2 separate regions of the Homo sapiens genome follow, and region 2 is linked to region 1. Evidence: promoter capture Hi-C in human tissues and cell types (Jung and others, 2019). All regions are on one chromosome and are shown on one strand. The core of a region is centred on a gene start or on the middle of the fragment in contact, and the rest is flanking DNA. Distances in the headings are between cores, read along the strand shown.

The links. Contacts are between HindIII fragments. The study calls those that stand out against the background at their distance.
Region 2: a contact is called between a fragment that was not itself captured here and the fragment with the promoter of CIB1 in region 1, in 1 of the 25 tissues and cell types used here (pancreas).

Annotation. Positions count from the first base shown.
Region 1 is chr15:90,230,508-90,236,224 of GRCh38, forward strand. It overlaps CIB1 (calcium and integrin binding 1), which reads right to left and starts at 3,434. Exons shown (of 7, transcript NM_006384.4): 1 at 3,328-3,434; 2 at 3,162-3,196; 3 at 1,712-1,820; 4 at 850-1,000; 5 at 588-706; 6 at 427-515. The coding sequence starts at 3,378. GDPGP1 (GDP-D-glucose phosphorylase 1) reads left to right here and starts at 3,702. Exons shown (of 4, transcript NM_001013657.3): 1 at 3,702-3,785; 2 at 4,015-4,089. RefSeq lists silencers at 2,927-3,376, 3,397-3,836. The HindIII fragment of the contact is 18,702 bases long and covers 1-5,717 here.
Region 2 is chr15:89,967,139-89,972,855 of GRCh38, forward strand. No RefSeq gene overlaps it. Among named protein-coding and RNA genes, the nearest start is that of ZNF710, 31 kb to the right of the region's middle. The HindIII fragment of the contact is 6,489 bases long and covers 278-5,717 here.

The DNA of each region.
Region 1 (5,717 bases), core at 2,184-4,683:
GAACAAGAGAAAAGCGGTGGGTTTTCTGCTGGAAGAGGAGGGCAGGGACTAAACCCGAACTTGCCCCCTTCTCCCTTTAGACCCTTCTTTGGAACGGGCTATGTTCCGTGTGTCAGCCCCCTCTGCAAGAACTCCCCGAGACATCCAGAGGGAGCTTTCTGGACCCACACACTGGGTCAGAGCTTCTAAACCTTTATTACTAATGAGTACAAACACAGAGCAATGACAATGGCAGTGGGAAGGGGAGAGGTCTTGACAAGGAGGGCTGCCCCTGCCCGGGGCGAGACTGCCAGCTTAGCCGGCCCTGTGTGTGGGGACTGGGGCTTTCTCTCACCCTGGCACCACCTCCTGTAGCCATGCCCTAGGCCCAGAGGCAGCAGGTCGGAACCTGCAGGTACCCAGAATGAAGGGGGACCACTGTCATACCTGGCAAAGTCTGGAGAACGGGAGATGACGTGCTGGAACTCAGAGAGGTTGATGGTTCCATCCCTGTCAATGTCAGACTCCTCCAGGATCTGGGAAAGGGAGAGTTTCAGGCCAGAGCCCCAACTGCTCCCTCCCGCTCCCAGGCCTGCTCAGCTGCTCACGTTGTCGATGAGCTGCTTCATCTCAGACGCACTAAGCCGTGTGTCCTCGCCCTCTCCCGTGAGGCAGTTCACCAGCCGGCTCAGGTCTTCTCTGTTCAAGGTTCCGTCATCATCAAAGTCTAGAGAGCAGACACAGGAAGCCAAAAGACACGGTTGGGAGGGGCTCTGAGGTTCCCCAAACGGCGCCCATTTCCCAAGCAGGGCCACCACAAAGCCCACGTGGGAAGGGGTGGTGTCCTGCCGGGCTGCTCCTGGTTCTCACCAAAGATGCGGAAGGCATAATGGGACTTGATGTCTGGCGTGGCTGTGTCACTGAACACACTGAGGAGATCCAGGAAGTCCTCAAAGCTAAGGCTGTCTTTGGCTGGGGATGTGGAGAAGACCCTGCAGATTCGCTCCTTGAAGGGGTTGGCCTAGGAGAACAAACGCCACAGGACGTGGCCCAGGTCACACGCTCATTAAAGCCTACCAGAAACTTGAGAGAGCAGGTCACAGGACCAGCACCAGCGAGCTCAGCCTCGTGGGGGTGAACAGTCAGTGCTTTGGGGCCAACATGGAGGGCAGTGGGGGCACAGGAAAGCAAACTGACCCAGCTGGGGAAGGGACTGAGATGGCTTCCTGGGAGTCAAGTGTTTAACCCAAAGGCAGGTCACATACAACGTAAGTGTGGGCAGAGAGGGAAGAAGAAGTCATCCTAAACAAAGGGAACGAGATGGGCTGGTTATTTTAAAACACAAATATTTACTTGAACAGCTATTGTGTTACAGGCACCGGGCCAGGCCCTTTGCACAGAAATTTTGCAGCAGCCTTACGGAGTGGCAATCAGCCTCTAGAACACGGTTCCTCAAACTCTAATGAGGTACCTCAACTCCTCTTAAGGGACAAAACTTCTTTGAACTTCCAAGATTATGTTCTAGAATCCCCATTTGAAAAGCACCATTCTAGATAATTCTGCCAGGTGATTTTGGTAAAGTCCTTGCCCCTAGAAAATCAGAACTAAGCAGAAAAATGACCAGAGTGGGGACCAGTGACCCCATGATCCCAAAGCTAGTGGCAGATGGAGTTAGGGGGTCTAGCAGGGAGGGAGTGGTGGGAGAGGTGTCAAAGGAGGGGAGCGCTTGCACCTTGAGCTCTGGAAGGCTGAGAATCTGCTCGAAGGGCACTTGTGCCCGAAGTGACGACTCCACGCTCCGCTGCTCCTGGGGAAGCAGCTCACAAAACCGCCTGTGGGCTCTGGTAGAGAGAGGGGAACTGTCGGTGTTCTCAGCGATCGGTCTCCCTGTGTGTTCATTCCCACTCCTTGCCTGCTGCTCATTGTCAACCAGGTGAGGAGCTAAAACCACGTACACAGAACTTCCGAGTCATCAGGCAACGGTAAGCAAAAGGACATGTCACAAGGCAGTACAGCCTAGGAGTCTATTCTTGCAATGAGTATTTACTGAGCATTTACTATGTGCTTGGCACTGATTCTAGAGATCCCCAAGGGATGAAGAAGTTGGGAAAGGAGCCAGAAGTTGGCCCTAAAGAATTGGCCAGGCACGGTGGCTCACACCTGTAATCCCAGCACTTTGGGAGGCCAAGGCGGGCGGAGCTTTGGAGGTCAGGCGTCTGAGACCAGTCTGAGCAACATGGTGAACCCCTTCTCTACTAAAAATACAAAAATTAGCCGGGCATGGTGGCGGGTGCCTATAATCCCAGCTACTCAGGAGGCTGAGGCAGGAGAATCACTTGAACCCGGAGGCAGGAGAATCACTTGAACCCGGAGGCAGAGCCTGCAGTGAGCCAAGATCGTGCCCCAGCACTCCAGCCTGGGCGACAGAGCGAGACGCTGTCTCAAAAAAAAAAAAACGGAGAAAAGAGCAAAACCAAAAATCTCATTCTCACCTTCACTCCAGGGATCTCTTACCCTCAAAGCCTCCTTTTTAGCAACCACACTGAACTGTCCTCCTCGGCCTCCACCTCCTTCCCATGAGCTTATCTTTGCCACAGGAACCTGGCCTGCATAAATCCGGCAAAAGGGCTTCCAGCCCAAGTTCAAATCTACTTACTCAGAGTGTTGTCTTAAGCAGTTACCAAACCTTTCTGAACCTGTTTCATTGTCCAGTACCTCTCTCCTAAAGATTAAATTAGGTAACGCAGGCAACCATTTAGCACAGTCCCTGGCACATGGTGAGTGCTCAGAAAGCGATAACGGTTACTGTATTATTCAGGTAAAGTTGGGAGAAGGAGCCGGGCTCCCCAAGGCTTCTGTGGTTTAGCCACTGGGCAAGGTCGGCCCCTGCCGGACTGGGGCAGGAAGTTCGGCAGTGCTGAAGCTAGTGGAGCCCAGGGTCAAAGAGCGCCTAACTTTTCCTGGAGGCTGTAAGGTGGCTCCGCGGTGCCACGCTGGGGCCTCAGGCGAGGGCGGGGAGGGCGTGCCGGGAGGAGGGCGCAGCCCGGGCTAGGTCTCCCGGCCTCCAGCTCCCGCTCCTCTGCAGACCTCAGGCCAGCCCCCGCCCCTCCCTCGGGACAGCGCCCCCGAAGCTGTCTCTAGAGGATCCCGGGGTCGGAGGCAGGGTTCAAGGCAGCACTTACAGGAGGATCTCCTGCTTCGTCAGGAACGTCAAGTCCTGGAAGGCAAAGCCAGAGCGGGGATTAGCGGACCGCTGGGAGGCCGCGGCCGCCCCGCAGCCAGCTCCCGGACCCTGCTCCCGAGAAGAGGCCCGCACGCGAGCTCCCCAGGGCCAGGCGTCCCGCGCACCTGGTACTCGGCCAGCAGCTCCTTGGACAGGCGACTGCCCGAGCCCCCCATCGCCCCGCCGCGCGCACAGCTCCGCCAACTCGCCTCGAGACGCAGACAACTTTCTCACTTCCGCCCTTGGGCCGCGTCACTGCCCGGTCCCCGCGGCAACCGCTCCTGGGGCCACCACCCCCGGGCCCGCCCCCTCCTAAAAGCTGCCAGGCGTTCCCAGCCGGGTTTGGCAGGCGAGCTGCCGGCTCCAAGCGGTCCTAGGCGAGCTGGAGGCGGGGCCCGGGGAGGGGCCCGACGCTCCGGGGCGGAGCCCGGGACTCACGGCCCCGCCTCCGGGGTGGGAGGGGGGGGCGGGCCACGCCGCGCGCGTGCGTGCTGGCTGCGTATGCGTCACGGGCGTCATGACCTCGCTGTGGCCCCGGCAGCGGCTGCGGGGAAAGTCGCGAGGTGCATCCGCTTCGGCTGCAGTAGGTGGTGGCGGCGGCAGCCCTGGGTGGGGTCCCATAGGGGCATCTGAGAAGTCACTGGAGCTAGCGTTTCCGGGAAACCTGGAGACTCGCTGAGTGGCGGGGGTCGTCGGCTGCCCCTCTGCCCAGCAAGGGCTTTTCTAGATGTTATCATCAGGCAATCGCTGCACCTGTCGCAGCCCCCAAGCCACCTCTTCCAGAAGTAACCATAACCTTGCTTCCTTCTTAGGCTATTTACTGAGGACCCACTGGATGTCAAGCATTGTGCATAGTTTTCTTCGATTGTTGCAACATCCCTTGCGAGGTAGGTTCCCATTTTACAAAGATGGAAATACGTAAGTCCAAAGGGTGTTAGTGATTTTTCCGGGCGCCGGCATTTAGAAGGTAATCGGTCCAGTCCAAGGCACTTTTAAAGGCTCTCCACTGCTGTTCTCATCATTCCAGCTGACCTGCCGTCCTTTTGACTCCATCTCACCCCTAGACTGCTGACCCTTTGCTCTTGTCCCCTCTTAACCTCTAGGATAATGTTTGGCACATAGTAGGCTCTCAGTAAATATTATCGAATGCATAATAAATGAATGAACGTATACTATTGCAAAAGGTAAGGATTCCAAACTGCTGGGAGGAGGAAGTGGAGGTTGTGTTGGTCAGGCTGGGATTAATTCTTGATCCTTCCAATCCATTATACTTGCTGATCTTTGTAAAGTCTAAATCTGAGTATGTTAGTCTCAGTTTATAACCATTAAATGGTTAAAAACCCAAATCCTGGCCCTCTGTAACTGGACTTCCTCCTATTGGCTCTCTGTCTTTCAGCCACTTTGGGCCCTCAGTCCCTCTTCCATCTCATCCTCAGGGAAGCCTTTCCTGACTCCCTAGACTGCCTAGGAATCTACTTTACACTGGAAGAATACCCAGTGCTCTCCTTGGCAGCATGTGTTTGATAAGACACACTGTATTAACAGGTACATTCCATCATTGTAGAAATATTCAAGGCCAGGCGCGGTGGCTCATGCCTGTAATCTCAGCACTTTGGGAGGCTGAAGCAGGCGGATCATTTGAGGCCAGGAGTTCAAGACCAGCATGGCCAACATGGCAAAACCCCATCTCTACTAAAAATACAAAAATTAGCCAGACATGGTTAAACCTGGGAGCTGGAGGTTGCAGTGAGCGGAGATTGTGCCACTGCAGTCCAGCCTGGGCAACAGAGTGAGACTCTGTCTCAAAAAATAAAAATAAAAAAAAATAACTAGGGTATAGGCCCATCCCAACCTGATCATTTTTCTCTTTTTTTTTGAGACAGAGTCTCGCTGTGTCGCCTAGGCTGGAGTGCAGTGGCATGATCTTGGCTCACTGCAAGCTCCGCCTCCTGGGTTCACGCCATTCTTCTACCTTAGCCTCCCCAGCAGCTGGGACTACAGGCACCCGCCACCACACCCGGCTAATTTTTTTGTATTTTTGGTAGAGACGGGGTTTCACCCTGTTAGCCAGGATGGTCTGGATCTCCTGACCTCGTGATTCGCCCACCTCGGCCTCTCAAAGTGCTGGGATTACAGGCGTGACCCACCGTGCCCGGCCGATCATTTTTCTCTTAATAGCAGGCTCTTTCTGTCCGAGAAAGAGTTAGTCTTCTGTTAGTAAAAGCTTAGGCAAAAAGCAAGAAGCTGTCATTATGTCTCCTGTACTAAATAGACCTTGTTTGCCTCTTACAAGCCAAGGCGAATACCTGGACTGCATGGTAATAAGTATCTGTCTTCTTTTTTTTTGAGACAGAGTTTCACTCCTGTTGCCCAGGCTGGAGTGCAATGGCATGATCTCAGCTCACCGCAACCTCCGCCTCCTGAGTTCAAGCAGTTCTCCTGCCTCAGCCTCCTGAATAGCTCGGATTACAGGCATGTGCCACCACACCCAGCTAGTTTTGTATTTTTAGTAGAG
Region 2 (5,717 bases), core at 2,272-4,771, 260 kb before region 1:
CAGTGAGCCGAGATCAAGCCACTGCACTCCAGCCTGGGTGACAGAAGGAGACTCCACCTCAAAACAATGGAATGAAACTAGAAATCAAAGGCAGAAGAAAAATTGGAAAAATCCATAAATTGGTGGGAATAAAACAACACACTTTTAAATAACCAAAGGGTCAGATAAGAAATCACAAGGGAAATTAGAAAATATCTTGAGACAAATGAAAACAAAACACAACATACCAAAACTTATGGGATAAGGGAAATTTATAGCTGTAAATGCTTACATTAAAAAAGAAGAGGCTGGGCAAGGTGACTCATGCCTGTAATCCCAGCACTGTGGGAGGCCAAGAGGGATAGATCACCTGAGGTCAGGAGTTTGAGACCAGCCTGGCCAACATGGCGAAACCCCATCGCTACTGAAAATACAAAAATTAGCTGGACATGGTGACGGGAGCCTATAATCCCAGCTACTCAGGAGGCTGAGGCAGGGAGAATTGCTTGAACCCAGGAGAAGGAGGCAGAGGTTGCAGTGAGCCAAGATCTCACCATTGCACTCCAGCCTGGGTGACAGAGCAAGACTCTGTCTCAAAAAAAAAAAAAAAAAGAAAGAAAGAAAAAAAGAAAAAGAAGAAGAAGAAAGCAGCCGGCGTGGTGGCTCATGCCTGTAATCCCAGCACTTTGGGAAGCCAAGGTGGGTGGATCACTTGAAGCCAGGAGTTCGAGACCAGCTTGGCCAACATGGTGAAACTCCATTTCTACTAAAAATACAAGAATTAGTATGGTGGTGCACATCTGTAATCCCAGTTACTCGGGAGGCTGAGGCACAAAAATCGCCTGAACCCAGGAGGGAGAGGCTGCAATGAGCTGAGAGATTGTGCCATTGCACTCCAGGCTGGGCGATGGATCGAGACTGTTGCAACAGAAAAAAAGAAGAAGAAGAAGAAGGTGATGATGATGATGAAGAAAGAAGAGGGAGAGGAAGAGAGAAGAAGGAGGAGGAGGAGGGAGGAGGGGGAGGGGGGAAGGAGAAGGGAAAGGGGAAGGAAGGGGAGGGGGAGGAGAAGGAGGAGAGGAAGAGGAAGAAAGAAGAAGAGGGAAGAAGAAGAGGAGGAGGAGGAGGAGAAGGAGGGGAGGAGGAGGGGAAGGAGGAGGAGGAGAAGGAGAAGGAGGAGGAGAAGGAGAAGGAGGAGGAGAGGTTGGGCGAGGTGGCTCACACCTGTAATCCCAGCACTTTGGTAGGCTGAGGTGGGAGGATTGCTTGAGGCCAGGAGTTCAAGACCAGCCTGGGCAACATAGTGAGACCTCATCTCCACTAAAAAAAAAAAAAAAATATGGGCACAGTGAAGCAGGCCTGTAGTTCCAGCTACTTGGGAGGCTGAGGCAGGAGAATCGCTTGGTCCTGGGAAGCTGAGGTTGCAGTGAGCCATGATTGCACCACTGCACTCAGCCTGGGTGACAGAGTGAGACCCTGTCTTAAAATAAATAAATAAATAATAGAAGAAGAAAGAGCCAGGCATGGTGGTTTATGCCTTTAATTCCAGCACTTTGAGAGGACGAGGCAGAAGAATTACCTGAGCCCAGGAGTTTGAGACCAGAGTCTGGACAACATGGCAAAACCCTGTCTCTGTTTAAAAGAAAGAAAATGAAAGACATGTATGTAAAAAATGTGTCTACATTTTTTAAAAGAAGGAGAAGGATCACAAACCAACAACCTAATTCTACACCTCAAGGAACTACAAAAAGAAGAACAAAGTAAACACAAAGCTAGCAAAAGGAATGAAATAAAGATCAGAACAGAGATCAAGGGAATAGAGAACAGAAAAACAATAGAAAAAAATCAGTTAAACTAAGAGTTGATTTGTTGAAAAGATCAACAAAATTGACAAACACTTAGCTAGATTAACGAAGAAAAAAGAGAGAAGATTCAAGCAACTAAAATCAGAAATGGCTTAGGTGCAATCTCAGCACTTTGGGAGGCTGAGGTGGGAGGATTGCTTGAGCCCAGGAGTTTGAGACCAGTCTGAGCAACATGGCGAGACCCTGTCTCTATCTAATCTAATAGATAGAGTCTCATCTCATCAGGAGGCTGAGGCAGGAGGATCCCTTGAGCCCAGGAGGTTGAGGCTGCAGTGCGCCATGATATCGCCACTGCACTCCAGCCTGAGCAATAGAGTGAGACCCTATCTCAAAAAATAAAACAAAATAAATAAAATAAAATCAGAAATGAAGACAATAAATGGTGCTGGGAAAACTATTTTCATATGCAGAAGAACAAAATCGGATCCTTATCATACACCATACATAACAATCAAATCGAAATGGATGAAAGACCTAAATGTAAAACTTGAAACCATAAATCTCCTAGATAAGAACACAGGGGAAAAGCTCCTTGACATTGGTCTTGGCAATTATTTTTTAATATAATACCAAGAGGTCAAGCTATAAAAGCAAAAATAAATAATGGAACTAGATTAAAGAAAAAACCTTTTGCACAGCAAAGAAGACAAAATGGGAAGCAGTCTATGGACTGAGAAAAATCTTTGCAAACCATGTATCTGATAATGGAATTAGTATTCAAAATATATAAAGAACTGTTACAACTCGGCCTGGCACAGTGGCTCACTCCTGTAATCCCAGCACTTCAGGAGTTTGAGACAAGCCTGGCCAACAGGGTAAAACTAGGTCTCTACAAAAAATACAAAAATTAGCCAGGCATGGTGGCGGGCACCTGTAATCCCAGCTACTCGGAAGGCTGAGGCAGGAGAATCCCTCGAACCCAGCAGGCAGAGGTTGCAGTGAGCCAAGATCGCACCACTGTACTCCAGCCTGGGCGAGAGAGCAAAAACTCCATCTCAAAAAGAAAAAAAAAATGACTGGGCACGGTGGCTCACGCCTGTAATCCCAGCACTTTGGGAGGTCGAGACGAGTGGATCACCTGAGGTCAGGAGTTTGAGACCAGTCTGGCCAATCTTTGTGAAACCCCACCTCTACTAAAAATAGAAAAATTAGCCGGGTGTGGTGGCGGGCTCTTGTAATCCCAGCTACTCGGAGGGCTGAGGCAGGAGAATCATTTGAACCCAGGAGGCGGAGGTTGCAGTGAGCCAAGATTGCGCCACTGCACTCCAGGCTGGGTGACAGAGCGAGACTCTGTCTCAAAACAAAACAAAACAACAACAACAACAACAAACTCTTACAACTCAGTGACAGAAAAGCAAGTAACTCGATTTGCCAAAGCACTTGAACAGACATTTCCTCAAGAAAGACATAAAAATGGCCAACAGGTATATAAAAAGGTGCTTACATCACTAATCATCCAGCAAGTGAAAATCAAAACCTCTATGAGAGGCCGGGCGTGGTGGCTCACACCTGTAATCCCAGCACTTTGGGAGGCCAAGGCAGATGTATCACCTGAGGTCAGGAGTTCGAGACCAGCGTGGCCAACATGGCGAAACCCCGTCTCTACTAAAAATACAAAAATTAGTCAGGCATGATGGTGGGTGCCTGTAATCCCAGCTACTCAGGAGGCTGAGGCAGGAGAATCACTTGAACCCGGGAGGTAAAGGTTGCAGTGAGCCGACACCATGCCATTGCATTCCAGCCTGGGTGACAGGAGAGAAACTCCGTCTGCAAAAAAAAAAAAAAATTGTTTAGATGGTAAATTTTACATTAAAAATGATTACAATGGTAAAAAAGTAATAAAAGCATTGTTACCACTAAAATAATGTTTAACCAAGCAAAAAAAAAAAAAAAAAGACATTAAAAAAAAACCCCAGGTGATTCCGAAGTGCCCCAGGTTTGGAAACACAGTTACATGATGATCCTGGATGACTTCCAAGAAGAAGAGGAGCTTTGAGCTGAGCTGTAAAGGGCAGAAACGTTTTGGCTGGGAGAAGGGAAGGGGGAAGTTACAAAGGAAGGAATGAGTTCAGTAGCAGCAGCGACATCACAAACATTTAACATACTATAAGTGCCTATTATATGCCAGGCGTGTGGTTCACATGTGTTCTCTTGTTTAAGCCACACGACGGTAACTCTAGGAGGTGGGCACTACTGGTGCCATTTTATGGAATAGAAACTGGGTGGCAGTTTGGGGCAGCCAGAGAGGGAGACCAGCCTGCCTATGTAGAGACGATGCAGATTGGAACAGAGAAGGCAAATTACCAAAGGCCTTGACACCAGTCAGAAAAGTCCACCTGATACCATGGACATGGGGTCGTTACAGGTTCTTGAGTAAAAGAGTGGTGCGATTTGAGAGGTGTTTTCAGCAAGTGAATCTAGCAGCAGTGTGCAGGAAAGTTCTGGCTGAACCCATGTGCCCTACACCAGAGTGGAAGCCCAATCCTTGCAAAATGGGCAACAAACAGATGTGCAAGTTGGGAATCAAAGGAAATTCACTCCTGAAGCAGGTGCCCCATTCTCCCTCTCCCCCACCTGACCCCAACACGCCCAGGTCTGTCCTCTGAGTGGCTCACACCCTGAAGAAGCAGGTCTTCTGGTGCCTGCCCTGCTCTGGCTGAGCAAAACCAGGTGGGACAGAGCTGTGTTCTGCAATTTGGAGGCTGGGACTGTAGGGGCATGGTTGACGTGTCTTGTCCCTGTGAGCGCTCTCTGCTGGAGGATCCCGGCCTGGCAGGAGTCTGCAGGCTCTGGGCACTGGGCCCAGACGGCTTTCATTTTTTATTAGTGATGGGGTGTCTTTCAGACTCCTGGAGATATTAATTACAGCCTGTTGTATAACAAGCTATGGTTTCACAGAGGACAGAGCTCACTGTCTCAAAGGCCTCTGGTCCCTGAGTTATTGGACTTCAACAGGAATTTCTAAAAAAAATTGACTTCCCCTTTTTTTTGAGACAGGGTCTCCCTCTGTTGCCCAGGCTGGAGTGCAGTGGCATGATCTGAGCTCACTGCACCCTCTGCCTCCCGGGTTCAAGAAATTCTCATGCCTCAGCCTCCTGAGAGTACCTGGGATTACAGGCATGTGCCATCACACCCAGCTAAATTGTATATTTTTAGTAGAGACGGGGTTTCACCATGTTGGCTAGGCTGGTCTCGAACTCCTGGCATTGAGTGATCCACCCACCTCGGCCTAAAAACGGATTCTCAAGGATGCTGGGTTCCTTCCTTCTTCTGAGGCTCAGCAGAAGCCGTCAGTCCCCAAGCTTCCTCAGGAGGGCCCATGGGGCAGAACCCTGCAGTTCCTGTGGGTTATGCTGGAAGCTGTTTCTTAAGAATGAAGAATTCAGGCAAGTGTGGTGGCTCATGCCTGTAATCCTAACACTTTGGGAGGCTGTGGCAGGAGGAGGGCTTGAGCCCAGGAGTTTGAGATCAGTCTGGACAACATAGGAAGACCCCATTGCTACAAAAAAAAAAAAGTTAAAATAAAAAAGAATGGAGAATTCTGGAAATCAGATCTAGAAGCTGGACACAGATGGCCCTAACAGGGCAGTAGATTCCTGTTCCAATAAAGAAAGGTAGTGATGTCTAATGTTACAGAATTGTTCAAAGAAGGGCCTCAGTCTCGTACCAGGAATATCAGAATGGGTTTATGCATTGAACTGTGGGGTTTACAAACTTCTTTCAGGGGCAAATCCCTGGAACTCTGCCCACTGGGCCTTCCTGACACTGAGGCAGCTCTGCTGAGCCCAGGATTCCTGGGGCCACACCGCAAGCCCTGCCTAATGTCCTTTCCAACCTAGAGAACCCATACTCTGCCATTCTAAGCCAATTAAA